5 separate regions of the Homo sapiens genome follow, and regions 2, 3, 4 and 5 are each linked to region 1. The links are contacts of gene promoters, found by promoter capture Hi-C in blood cells and fetal thymus (Javierre and others, 2016). All regions are on one chromosome and are shown on one strand. Each heading gives the region's core, a stretch centred on a gene start or on the middle of the fragment in contact. The rest is flanking DNA. Distances are from core to core; before and after follow the strand shown.

Region 1 (2,700 bases), core at 145-2,644:
TTGGCTGTTTTCAGTGCTTCCTCTCTCAATCCCAGTTTTGTTTCCTTTGCTCATGGCATGTGAATTGGCCCTTGCTTCACTGGGATAAGCAGATTGTCTCAAAGACACTTAACAATTGTCAGGGATCTTAGAGTCAGTGCCTACTTGGGGTCAACCCTCACAATATATCTTTTTAAAAAACCAAAAACCTTTTAATCAAAACAGTACATCTGGCTCTTGGTATCCACGGATCCAACCAACCACAGATCAAAAATATTCTGGAAAAAACTAATAAAAAATAACAATACAACAACAAAAAATAATGCAAATCAAAATACAATATAACGACTCTATAGCATTTAGATTGATTTGTATTAGGTCTTATAAGTAATCAAGAGATGATTTAAAGTGTATGGGGAGGATGTGTGCTGGTTACTTGTAAACATTACATCATTTTATGTAAGAGACTTGAGCATCCACGGATTTTGCTACTGGGGCAGGGGAGGTTTCTGGAACCAATCCCCCCATACCAAGGGAGGACTGTGTATGTTTACTGCAGAAAAATAGAGAAAGCAAGGGCAGAGAAGAGAATAAATACCATAAATCCACCACCCATAGGATAATTTGATGTCTGTCCTTTACATACATACTTACATACTTTTTGTTTTCTGACCAATGGTTATACACTTAAGTTTTTAAAAAGGAATCATAGTATACATAGAATATTGTGAACATCTTTCTGTATGCAATGCATTAAAATAATGAAACCATTTTTAAAAGCTTTTGACACATTTATATATTTATAATATGACAGAAAGTACTAAGTATCTTGTTCACACAGGACTAATATTATGTATATCTAAGTAATATAAATATGTAATGTAGGTAATGTAAATGTGTAATGTATCACGTAGATGTAATATATGTACATAGATGCAATTATAAGCAACCTTTTATTTATAATGAGGTGACGCCACTTCTTTACACAACTCTAGAGGGCGCCATTCGTAGATTCTGGTGCCACAGCGGCCCAATAAAAGTTGAGGAAAAAAGATCGAGATGGGCTCGTTGGCTCTTTCAGTTAGATAATTTTACAAGTAAGCCTTTTGAAGTTTAGAAAGGTTCAGTTAGACCTGGTTATTAAAAACGTTTAATTTCCTCCAGTGAAAAACGGGCGGGAAGCAACGAACTTTGAAAACAACTAAGGAAGAAAACGCGTCTGCTTACAGTTTGCCAACTACGGGACACCGTGGAAATCCCATCTCGGGATTGGCGCGGTGCCTGCTGGGAGTTGTAGTGCGCCCCTCGCCTTCCGGGCGGCGGTCTGAGGCCCGCGAGACTCCGTTTCCCGGCAGGCCTCGCGTCAAGACGGCCGGCGGGACGGGAGCTGCGGCGCTGGCTACGAGAGTGACCCAGTCAGCGTTGGTTCCCGTCTTGGCCATGGCCTCGTTCGTGACAGAAGTTTTGGCACACTCCGGGAGGCTGGAAAAGGAGGATCTGGGGACCCGGATCAGCCGCCTGACCCGGCGGGTGGAGGAGATCAAGGTGAGAGCGGGGCAGCTGTCTGCTGACTGGAAGGGGACTCCGGGTCCTTGTGTGAAGGGACTGGAGAGAGGAGTCAGGGGCTAAGGGCAGACAGAGTGGGGACCAGCAGAGTGGGGCCTGTTGGGGAGATCTAGTTGTGGGGGCTGAATGAGGAGTGGAGGGGCCCAGAATGTGTGGATTGAGGAGGGATCTTGGAGGGGAGCCCACACAGGGGTTGGGAACTGAGGAGGCGAGGAGACCTGGGACTGTGGGGACGAACAGGCGGTGGCTGGAGAGCACTGGAGAGTGGAGTTATGTTGGGGAGGGGTGTGCCGCGGGAAGAGGGAGACTGAAGAGACCAGCAGAGCGGGAGGAGCAACTGGAAGCTCCGAGGAAGCTAGGGAGCGAGCGCAGGAGAGGAATAGAAAAGACAGGATCCCCCTTCCCCTTCTTCCATCGATGAGTGTTTATTTCCTCCACCCACTCCTTGATTTGTTGATGAATAAAATAGCCTGGAGGATTGCACCTTTCTCCTCCCCGACATTAAAAAAAAAACAAACCCAAACCCTCAGTATGTTTTTATTTTTATGTATCTATCTATCTTTTGAGATGGAGTCTTGCTCTGTCGCCCAGGCTGGAGTGATCTCGGCTCACCGCGACCTCTGCCTCCCGGGTTCAAGCGATTCTCCTGCCTCAGCCTCCCGAGTAGCTGAGATTACAGGCGCGTGCCACCACGCCTGGCTAATTTTTTTTTTTTTTTTTTTGTATTTTTAGTACAGACGGAGTTTCACCATGTTGGCCAGACTGGTCTCGAACTCTTGACCTCAGGTGATCCACCCGCCTCGGCCTCCCAAAGTGCTGGGATTACAGGTGTAAGCCACCGTCTCCGGCCTCTTAATGTGGTTTTAAAACTTCATCTACAAGCACATGAAGCTGTGCTGAGTGTCATTGGTACCTACGTAAACGTTGCTGCCTTGAGATTGATACAAAAACTGGAAGCACGTAGCCACACACAGTTTTGCTTTGTACTGATATTGTTACCTTGCCAGTATTTGTCCACATCTTCAGTTGCTTTCATTTAAAATTTTGTGTATCTGAGTCAAGTAGGGTTTCGAGGGAGCAAGTTTGCCACACACCATAAGGGCACAGGTATAACCCTTCCTAACAGCTCTTGATTTTACAAAAGTAGTTTCCTGA
Region 2 (2,700 bases), core at 51-2,550, 390 kb after region 1:
GTCATTATATGAAAAAGATACTTGCACACACATTTACAGCAGTACAATTCTCAATTGCAAAATTGTGGAACCAACCAAAATGCCTATCAATCAACTAGTGGAAAAGGAAACTGTGAGATATACATATATATGATGGAATACTACTCAGCCATAAAAAGGAATGAATTAACAGCATTTTCATGGACCTGGATGAGATTGGAGACTACTATTCTAAGTGAAGTATCTCAGTAATGGAAAACTAAATGTTGTTTGTTATCACTGATATGTGGGAGCTAAGCTATGAGGACACAAAGGCATAAGAACCATACCATGGACTTTGGGGACTTGGGGGGAAGGGTGGGAGGAGGACAAGGGATAAGAGATTACAAATAGGGGGCAGTATATACTGCTCAGGTGATGGGTGCACCAAAATCTCACAAATCACTACCAAAGAACTTACTTATGTAACCAAATGCTACCTGTACCCCAATAACCTATGGAAACATAAAATAAAAAATAAAAAGTGGGCAAAGGACATGAACAGAACATCTCAAAAGAGGACATACCTGCGGCCAACACATATATGAAAAAGTGCTCAACATCAGTAATCATTAGAGAAATGCAAATCAAAATCACAATGAGTTACTGTTTTGCAGCAACCATTTTAATAATGGCTATTATTTAAAAAAAAAACAAAAAATAACAAATGCTGGTGAGGCTGTGGAGAAAAGGGAACACTTATACACTGTTTGTGGTAGTGCAAATTAGTTCAGTCACTGTGAAAGCAAGCTGAATATTTCCCAAAAAACTTAGAATTAACATTCAACCCAGCAATCCTATTACTAGGCATAAAATAAATCTTGCTACCAAAAAGACATGTGCATTCATATGTTCATCACAGCACTGTTCACAATGGCAAAGACATGGAATCAACCTAGGAGCCCATCAATGGTGGATTGGATAAAGAAAATGTGGTACATATACACCATGGACTACTATGCAGCCATAAAAAAGAATGAAATCATGTCCTTTGCAACAACACAGATGCAGCTGGAGGCCATTATCCTAAGTGGTGAATTAACACAGAAACAGAAAACCAAATACCACATGTTCTCACTTGTAAGTGGAAGCCAAACCTTAGGTATACATAGACAGAAAGATGGGAATAACAGACACTGGGAACTACTGGGGGTGGAGAAGGGAGGGGGCAAGGGTTGAAAAACTACCTGTCGGGTGCTATGCTTGTTTGCTTGCTCCCTGGGTGATAGGATCATTCATACCCCAAACCTCAGCATCACACAATATACCCATGCAACAAACCTGCACATGCACCCACTGAATCTAAAATACAAGTTGAAAAAGAAGAAAATATTTTGTTTGTTTGTTTCACTATGTGGTATAGGTGGTTGTGAAGAATACAATTCTTAAAAGTCAAAGAAACTTAAATAGACCAATAGAATATGGGCTCCTGGACAGGAATCTTGTTCTCTGCTCTATCCTCAGTACTTGGCCATGTAGGAGGGAGCTCATTTAACATTTGATGAATGAATGAATGAATGAATGAATGAATGAATGAATGAATGAATGGATGAATGAACAGGAAGGTGAATCTCCCGGGGTGAAGGTTGATTTCTAGCCTTTTTTCAGAGACTTCTCTAGTCTGAGTAGGTTCTGAGTCATTTTGTAGCAGACCAGGCTTTTCCTTTACAGTTTTCTCCAACCTGCCTCCCCAGGGTCAGGCCACTAAAACCCCTAGGCAGATTCTCCTGGGAGAGATCCTTAGAGATTCCCATCATTGCTACCTTCCCCCGGTCGGTTTCCTTATGATCATTTACGATGCTTCATATTTTTATAAGTATGGTTTTCCAAGCAAAGGGCTGTTCTGATGAATGAGAGAACAAATTGATGGCGAGGCTTCAGGGGCCAAAGCAATAATCAGATGGTCATTTAGCCAGCCTTTGCTTCAAACCAGACACTCCATCCCAAGTGCTCAACTTGCATTATCTCATTTAATTTTCTTGACAACCCTCTGAGTTTGGTACTATTATTATTTCCATTTTTGCAGGTTTAGAGGAGCCTTGGGTCACGCAGTTGGCAATTCAGTGGCCCAGGACTTAAACCTGGCTTGCTTCCTGCCAAGGTACATTGCTCTTAACATATGGCCAGAATAGCCTTGATCAAATCAAATACAGGACTCTGAGCCTGAGGCTTATCCATTGCTGGCGGTGGGGTGGGGTGTCACGTGCTCCCCAGGCCAGGCCTGAACAATAGGACCTCCTGGGGGGAGAAAAATCAGCTGTGGAAATTTAGAGACACTCCCTGTTCTCCTTCAACCTGAAAGGAAGAGAAAAGAGAGGGTGGGTGTGCTGGTACTGAAGAGGTGGAGCTTTGACTAATATGCTCATCAGGACTTTGCCTGCAGCAAAAAGATATCTTTGGAAGCTGTGCCTGTGGAAAGGTCAGTATTAGCTCAATCAAATTTGGCTTATGGAGAAACTTCGGGATTACTTAGTTGCAGTGGAAATGTGTCTTTGTCTCTACAGTTTTGGTTGGAAAGAAAGCAATGTGTCCCTGGGACTGTCAAAACGCTTTTTAACCAGTAACAGGAAAACTATGTATGTGCTGGTAAATTTGCATTGAATATGGAAACTTGGCACATAGAGTGTCAAGCAGATGGAGTTTCAGACTGGGAAAAGAATGCCTTTCAGATTCCATCCAGCT
Region 3 (2,700 bases), core at 169-2,668, 450 kb after region 1:
CATATATCCATGGTCAACTGTCAGTCATCTAAGTGGCTCTGCTTTAGAAAGTCTGCTGGCTGTTGGCTTGAGAAATGCAAGCAACCCGGGTAAGTGTGTCTTACTTTCTCATGAGTGGTATGAGTGCAAGCCCTAATTCAAATGCACTTTTCAAGCCTCTGCTTGTGTCATGTTTGCAAACATCCTTTTGGCCAAAGCAACACACATGGCCAACCCAGATTCAAGTGGCAGAGAAATAGGCTCCACTCTTGATGGGAAGAAAGGAATTTGTAACCATTCTTGCAATCTACCAGAATATTTGTGTATGTAATATTTAAACAATTTTTTAAAATAGTTGTATAAAATGTGCATTCATTTGCAACCTACTTTTTTCTCTTAAGATGCTTTAGAGATGTGTTCTTGATACACATGGTTCCAGTTGATTCATTTAAACCATTATATATACCATAGTTAATCCATTCTCTTATTGATAGCCAGGTGGTTTTTCAGTTTTTTCTAAAGTAAATAAATGCTGAATTGAATACCTGTATGTACATATTTCCTTGTGCACATGTTACATATCCTTCAGGATATGGCTGTACCAATTTTTACTCCTACAAAAGAGTACAAGAGGAAGTTCCCATTCTTCTACATTCTTATCATCACTTGCTGGGTTAAACTTTTTAATTGTTGTCAATGTAATGGATGGGAATGGTATCTCATTGTTTTAATTTGCATTTCGCTGAATTTGATTGGAATTGAGCATCTTCTTATTGATTTGCACCCATTTGGATTTCTACGAAGAGCCTACTCCTATCCTTGGCCAATTTTCTATTGGGTCATTGTCTCTTTCTTATTAGTTAATATAATTTCTTTTTTAAAAAATTCTTTTTTTTTTAAGAGATGGTCTTGCTATGTTGTCCAGGCTCGATTTGAACCCCTGGGCTCAAGCGATCCTCCTGCTTCAGCCTCCTGAGTAGCAAAGACTACAGGCACACACCACCATGCCTGGTTGATTTGATTGTGAAACAGGGGAGTTCTCTGATCCCCCTCGCAGGACATGCGACAGGGGTGTGGCTTGCCTGTTTAGTCACCACCACTGCTCAAACCCCTGAGGGGAGGGGGAGAACGCAGACGGACAAGTGCAGGAGCCCAGTTGGGCACGTGTTACAGCGTGTCCTTTTAGCCCTGCCATCTGCGGACGACTTGATTGTTAACCAGCTTGACGGACATCTGCCTTTTCACAAGGGCAGAGGGAAGTGACAGCTTTTTGTATCCCGAGCTCTTGCCCAGCATCCCCGGAAGAATCAGGTCACACACAGGACTAAAGGATGAATGTGGGGTTTTACTGAGTGGTGGAGGTGGCTTTCAGTGGGATGGATGGGGAGCTGGAAGGGGGAATGGAGGGGAAAGATGATCTTCCCCTGGAGCCTGGCCATCCAGTGGCCCAACTCCCCTCTGGCTGCTCCCAGCCAAACTCCTCTCGGCGTTCAGACATTCCTCCTCTTTTCTCTACTGTGTCGTTCTGCCATTTGTCTGCTTGTGTCCTCATCTCACCTGCTCGTCTGCTTCTGGAGCCTGGGGTTCAGAGTTTACATGGGCACAGGATAGGGGAGCATGGCAGGCCAAAAGGCAACTTTTTGGGCACGAAAACAGAAATGCCTGTTTCCACTTAGCGCTGCAGATCTCCCGGCTTGAGGGTGGGGTCTTTGCCAGGGAACCACCCTCTTCTATCCACTATTCCCATCTCCTACCCGTATCAGTTGTATATATTCTGGACTGGTTACATGTATTTCCAAACATCTTCCCCTTGGGTATTCTTTGTCTTTTCATTTGTTTTTATGGAATATGTTGTTGAAGAGATTTTCTTTTTAATTTTAGTGTGTTAAATATACCATCTTTTCCTTTACAATTTAGGTCTTTTGTGTCAGTAAGGTTATAAATATACTCTCTTATGGTGTCTTATAAAAGTTTTAAAGTTTTTTTCTTACTAAGGTATGTAATTCACCTAGAGTTGACTTTCACGTAGGGCAGGAGCATTATTTGTTGAGAAGTCCCTGCCAGCAATGTGTCTCATCATCCCTGTTATGTGTGCAAATCTTCTCCAGGCTCTTCATTCCTTTCCCCTGATTGTCCTTTCCAGCACGAAAACCTCCATGCATTGATTACTATGGCTTTATAATAAATCTTGAATGTCAGGTAGGGAAAGTTGTCCTGCTTTTTTTTTTTTTCCTGCAGAGTTTTCTTGGCTCTTCTTGGTCCTTTGCTCTTCCACGTAAACTTTGGAATCAGCTTGCTGAATTTTAGTACATACTACTTTGCGGGTTTTGATCTAAATTGTATTTACTGCATAGAATATTTTAAAAATTGACATTTTTACCAAATAAGTCTTCCTAGGATTAAATACGTCTCCATTTATTTAGCTCTTCTTTCATGTCTTTTAATTAACTTTTTTTTAAATTAACTCAACTGCACACTTTATTCTAATTTCATTGTTTTTTCTCCCTAATGCCCTTTTCCTATTCCAGGATCCCATCCAGAACACTACACGACATTTAGTCATGTCTCCTTAGGCTTCTCTAGGCTGCGACAATTTCTCACCCTTTCCTTATTTTGATGACCTTGACAGTTTTGATGACCTTGACATTCTATGAGTTTGCATAGAATACCTTGCAATTTGGGTTTATCTGGTATTTTTCTCACGGTTAGACTGGAGTTACA
Region 4 (2,700 bases), core at 59-2,558, 500 kb before region 1:
GGGGGGCTCTCCCCTCTTCTCTCTATGCAACCCTGCAGAGCCCTTGAAACAAGAAGAAGCACAGCTTTATTTCTCTGGTCTAATTCTTTCTCTCCCTCCCTGGGCCATGAGTGGAGCATATTATAAACCTCTCTGTTTGAGATCAACATTCCTATTTACCTGGCAATCATGTATAATAAGACTCTAAAAGCATTTGCTGGTAAGGTTTCTAAATAAAACAGACTAAACGAAGAGGAAAGCAAATGAGGTAGCAGGATGGCATCTGGAAATCCTGCCCCTGTGCACTCCTAGCTCCTACCAAGTCTGCTGCATCAGTCCCTTCGCCGGGCCACAGAGAACATCTCTGGGTCAACTGGGCAGTCGTGGAAGTGGCTCTCAGCTGCCTGCTGAGCCTTCTCCAACTTCTCCAAATCCAAGCCTGTCTCCTGCAGGGGCTCCTGCAGAAATTCCTCTCTAGGGGCAGTGTGGAGAACCTCTTGTCCCCCACCATGTAGACACTGGTCTCAAAGCCTCTGCTTGCAGCATACGGTCCCTGGGTTGAAGCAGGGTCCCAAGTTGGCACAAGGTGCCTTGGCAGGTACCCAGGGTGGGTGGGGGGGCAGCCTGAAACCACAGGGAGAAAACGAGGCAGTCGGCCAGGGGCAGGACTGCAGGTTTCAGAGGCCATTCTTTCCAAATGTCACATGTAAGCACATTTGAGTCGCTTTCCTTAAACACTCCTCCTTTTCAGCCCACTTCTCTCTGGAAAGAAGGAAATGGAAAGAGTGGCCAGCTGGGTCAAGCTTACCTCATGGGACATATAGATCACTCCTGGTCATTTTCTGCATCTCATACACACACTTGCAGGATAACAGAATATTCTAACCCTAATCTTAACTGTAACCCTACCCCTAACATATACACAACTCACAGGATATCAGAATATTCAAATCCTAACCCTAACCATAACCATAACCCCTATACACTCACAAGATATCAGAATATTCTAACCCTAACCCTAAACCCATACACACACTCGCAAGATATCAGAATATTCTAACACAAAACCTAACCATAACCCTAACCCCAAGCCATACACACACTCACAGAATCTCAGAATATCAGAATCAGGTCACTCCTTTTACAGATGAAGACACTGAGTCCTGGAGATGCAGTCATGACATCAGCTATTGGCACGGGCAAGCCTAGGGACCGCCAACCCTGCAGTCAGTGCTCTTTCCACTTGCCGGCTGTCTCTGCAATGTGCTTCTGACAATCAGCCCATTCTTTCTCTGCCTGGTCCATGACTTAAAACAAGTCAGCCAAGTGCAAAGGGAAATGGAAAGTCTGCCTGGAACCAGCAGAGCAAAACTATTAATACAAAGTGAGCTTGGTAGATGTTGTTGAGGACATCCAGTACCTCCATCATCTTTCCCTTCCAGTGGCTCCTGGCTACACACTCCACTCAGTTGTCACATTCTCTTCTTAAATACCTAGTATAGGCTATGAGGCTCATTCATACTGAGGTATGAATAAGGACTAGCACTTAAAGGGTTACTCTTTACAGCTCTTCAATAGTGTATTACAAATGTTATTGTCTTAAGCAAAATGAAGAAGGACCTAATGAACAACTTCAACCTTCTTACTTAACTAGGATGTGGGGTATTTTGGGAGTGAAGATGCTATGGAGAACTTTCCTGGTGCCTGAAATTACGCAAGGTAAGTAAATTCTATTCTGCCTCAAAGTTAGATTGGTCTTAATTCCATTCCCAACTCCAATCCCAGCGATGGCCTTCTCTGTGTTTCCCTGTTCCCAGCAGTGAGAGGTCACCTCAGGAGACCCACAGAAAGCTTCCACAGGTTTAGGGTCAAAAGTCTGGAGGTTGCAATTGGAACAACAGGAACACTGACCAGTCAGAACGGTTGCCTGCCATCAAAAGCCAGCTGACTGTCATCCTGCCTGTTATGCATATGCTTGGGCTCAGATCTTGGCATCTGGGACAGTTTCTTTCTGGCTCCAGGCTTGTCTCTAGCCATCTACTTTGGTTCCCTCCTTGGGGCTTTATAGAACTCACTCTTCCTTTCTTCTTCCTGCAGTTCCACTGACATCCTTCTTTCTTAGTCTCCATCTTTCTTGCCATTTCTACATGAGCCCCACAGAAAATTCTTAGTTCAGAGAGCCACGTGAAGCTCTGGCATCCTCAAGGTGCAAAAACAAACACCGAACTCCTTGCCTAATCCCTTCAAGCTCACATACATATTTTACCACTGGAGACCAGTCAAATGACTGCAGCCTCTGTCTCTGCTACCTGTTCAGCTCCAGGACATTCTTGTCCATGTAGTTGGAGGCAATGGTCTCCTAGAAAGACTCACAGGCAGAGAGGAGCTGATAATGGTGGCCTCAGGGCCAATGCCAATTAGTCACTTTCCTATCAGCCCACCTGTTTTAGAACAAGAATATTTCTAAATCGTCAGTATCGAAGCATGGCTCTGAGGTCCACCTTTCCCAAAAGGTTCTACTTTCTCTAGACTTCTTAGAGAGACACGTTTGTTTGGGGTGTAGAGAGTCAACCACTTGGGAATGCAGACTCTAAGATTTGGAATTTTATCTGCACTAACAGCCTTAGACATGACTGAGCACAGTCCCCAGCACTGAGCAGGGGTAGGAGGGGAGTGTTAGGAGCAGGAAGGCACTGAGGGGTGTGGCAGCAACTAGTAGAG
Region 5 (2,700 bases), core at 81-2,580, 430 kb after region 1:
CGTGATCTCGGCTCACTGCAACCTCCGCCTCTCAGATTCAAGCGATTCTCGTGCCTCAGCCTCCTGAGCAGCTGGGATTACAGGTGCCTGCCACCATGCCCAGCTAATTTTTGTATTTTTAGTGGAGTCGGGGTTTCACCATGTTGGCCAGGCTGGTCTCAAACTCCTGACCTCAAGTGATCCGCCCGCCTTGACCTCCCAAAATGCTGGGATTACTGGCATGAGCCACCGCGCCCAGCCTCAATTGTTAGCTGCAGTGTAACTCCAATGTCTTGAGGGAAAGCACTCAAAGATGTTCGTGGAGTAGCTTTGCACTCCTGGAGAGCCCCCCACTACTGACTGAAGGGGGGTAATGTTCAGAAACGTGACTGTCTATGTGCCTCGTGTCTGATTTCATAAGCAGTGGTTATCTTCCCTTGCTTTGCTGCTGGGCTGTCTCTATGAACATCCCTACCTTCTTATGACCTCGTTGTCACTGATGATACTAAATCCATTGTGCATTCTGAATAAAGTTTGTTCTGTGCCTGAAACAGATACAAAGAAAACCACTTCAGACTCCCAAACTGGCTGGCTGGTGTCTCGCTGCAACACAGCCACCTGCTAATGAGAAACCTAATATGGAATGCCACGGTACCCACGTGAATGGTTTGGCAGGAACAAATGAACTTTACATTTTGAAACATACAATGGTCAGCAGCCTCTCAGCGTCAGAGGCCTCAGTGCCTCTCAGGCGGAGGGACTGTTTAGAGAAGGAGAGCAGAGCTGGGGTGGCCCCGAGGGCTATCTGCACAGCTCATCATTCTGTAATCTTCAGAGAGCCTCCCAGAGCTGCTTAACCTATGGGAAGTACCAGCATATCCATCTGTTCTTAAATATTTATTTCAAAGCTATTTCCAAGCTCCAGAGAGGAATTTATAATCTCCAAGAAACTGCTGAAGGGGATATTTGTGTGCCCTCCATTGTACACTAAAGAGAAGTCAGACACTCCATCTATTTGTACAAACAACATGCTGTCACTGAGTATAGAGATTATTTAAGCCTTGGTAACAATGTTTACAAGAGCTAGTAAAAGAGAACAGTATGGCCCTCATTAGTAGGAGAGCTGATGTTTGCTCTGAAACCATTTTCACATCCTATGCAGCCATTAACTGTAACTGGGTGAACCTTACAGTTTAACCTACAAAATTCTGTCTTCCATTCCTCCACAGTGGAGGGAAGGTGTACGAGGTGGTATGGGATGCTTGAGGTGTCTGTGGGGGTATGTGTGGAGTACACGCAGGATGTGCATGGGGTGTGTGGTGAAAATGTGAGGGTGGAGTGTGCGCAGGATATGTGGACTGACATGAGTACTTATGGTGTGAGTGTGCTGTGTGTGGTATGTGGTGTGTGTGTAATACAAGGATATATTCAAGTGAGTGAAAGCTGAGTGCATGTGTGGTGTATGTAAGTATATATCGAGTGTGTGCCACGTGTACGTGTTGTGTTGTGTATGTTTATTGCATGTGTGCTGAGTGTACGCATGCTCTGTAGAGAGGATGGAGCAGAAGTCGGAGGACATTTCTTGTGCACCCCTTTTAGCAGCTACATTAGCGTATATCTTTAATCAATATTTGTGGAAGGAAGGGAGGGATTCTTGGCCTGGTAAAGGCAGACCTCTGAATGTGTCCCTTCACACTGACAGCACTCATGAGATCACACACATCTCTGGCTTACACTCATTTATCATTTCAGTCAGGATCTCAATCCCCCCAGCATAGAACAAGGGGATCTGGTCAGGCTTGGAAAGGGTCTCCAGGAGGTTCTTGGTGGTCACGGCTGTGTTCTTTCCTGAATCCAGCAGTTCGTGGGCTTCCTTTTCTTGAAGGTCTGCTTTTTCCTGAAGATCTACTTGATTCAGGTAACCTAGAAAAACAAGAAAGGAAAGCAAAACAAAACCCTAACAATCAACAATACCACACAAGAAGCAACCTTTTTTTTTCCTTTCTTTTGAGGATGGGAGTTTGAGAAGCATAAAGCATTAAAATAATTAAAACTCTTCGTTAGCAAGGAAAATTTTAGAAACAGTCTAAATCTACAACCAGAATCTTAAACCTTGTTGGGGATTCAAGGGAGTCTAAAAGTGTCTAAGGGAGGATGGTGTAGAAAATGAAGAAGGAAAATATTACTATTTGCAAGGGAGCACAGCAAACAGAGGAGCAGAGTGGGCTGGTTAACACAGAGGACCCAACTGTGCAGGAAAGAGGATCCGCCGCTGCCTAGTGGCCAAGGGCAGTGAAAGCACGGAAGGCATTCTAAGGCAGGGGGCAGAGGGAGGTGGAGTTCAGATGAAGGACCTCAGCAGGAACGTGCTCACCTTTCACCTGGGTTTGCAGCTTGGGGTTTATTTCTAAGATCTTCTTATAACACTCTCTAGACTGGAAAAAAGAAACAAGACCTTGAAGAGTGGTTGGGGTAAAGGTGATTATGAGAAAGACACTGGGTGTCATTGGGCTTGGCTGCTTCATTATTTTCTCCTCACCTCCTCCTGCTCCCAGTGCAGGAGACAGGCATAGGAACACAATGTGCATTTGACATTTTTGTTCAGGCGTCTCCAGTTCTAGGGGGCAACAGGAATTATTTCAAAATTAGTTTTAAAGAATTTTAGATGCTCATGATGAAAAATATCCAGTCCTAAATTCTTGTGGATCATGTCTGTCTGGG

The links. Contacts are between HindIII fragments. The CHiCAGO score rates a contact against its expected background, and 5 or more counts as called.
Region 2: a fragment that was not itself captured here is called in contact with the fragment with the promoter of ZW10 in region 1 in 1 of 17 cell types (total B cells); the score reaches 5.3 in total B cells.
Region 3: a contact is called between a fragment that was not itself captured here and the fragment with the promoter of ZW10 in region 1, in 6 of 17 cell types (total CD8 T cells, M2 macrophages, M0 macrophages and 3 more). The highest score is 8.6, in total CD8 T cells.
Region 4: a contact is called between a fragment that was not itself captured here and the fragment with the promoter of ZW10 in region 1, in 1 of 17 cell types (total B cells). The highest score is 9.5, in total B cells.
Region 5: a fragment that was not itself captured here is called in contact with the fragment with the promoter of ZW10 in region 1 in 3 of 17 cell types (M0 macrophages, M1 macrophages and M2 macrophages); the score reaches 6.0 in M0 macrophages.

The regions. Positions count from the first base shown.
Region 1 is chr11:113,772,386-113,775,085 of GRCh38, reverse strand. ZW10 (zw10 kinetochore protein) reads left to right here and starts at 1,394. Exons shown (of 16, transcript NM_004724.4): 1 at 1,394-1,524. The coding sequence starts at 1,420. RefSeq lists enhancers at 1,204-1,263, 1,394-1,663. The HindIII fragment of the contact is 9,750 bases long and covers 762-2,700 here.
Region 2 is chr11:113,377,781-113,380,480 of GRCh38, reverse strand. No RefSeq gene overlaps it. Among named protein-coding and RNA genes, the nearest start is that of ANKK1, 8.6 kb to the left of the region's middle. The HindIII fragment of the contact is 5,570 bases long and covers 1-2,700 here.
Region 3 is chr11:113,319,189-113,321,888 of GRCh38, reverse strand. All of the region lies in intron 2 of TTC12 (tetratricopeptide repeat domain 12), which reads right to left. Among named protein-coding and RNA genes, the nearest start is that of TTC12, 6.0 kb to the right of the region's middle. The HindIII fragment of the contact is 8,883 bases long and covers 1-2,700 here.
Region 4 is chr11:114,274,007-114,276,706 of GRCh38, reverse strand. It overlaps a transcript of NNMT not described here. Among named protein-coding and RNA genes, the nearest start is that of NNMT, 21 kb to the left of the region's middle. The HindIII fragment of the contact is 1,048 bases long and covers 785-1,832 here.
Region 5 is chr11:113,338,488-113,341,187 of GRCh38, reverse strand. TTC12 (tetratricopeptide repeat domain 12) reads right to left here. Exons shown (of 22, transcript NM_017868.4): 9 at 2,354-2,414; 10 at 1,714-1,902; 11 at 455-524. Among named protein-coding and RNA genes, the nearest start is that of TTC12, 25 kb to the right of the region's middle. The HindIII fragment of the contact is 4,416 bases long and covers 1-2,700 here.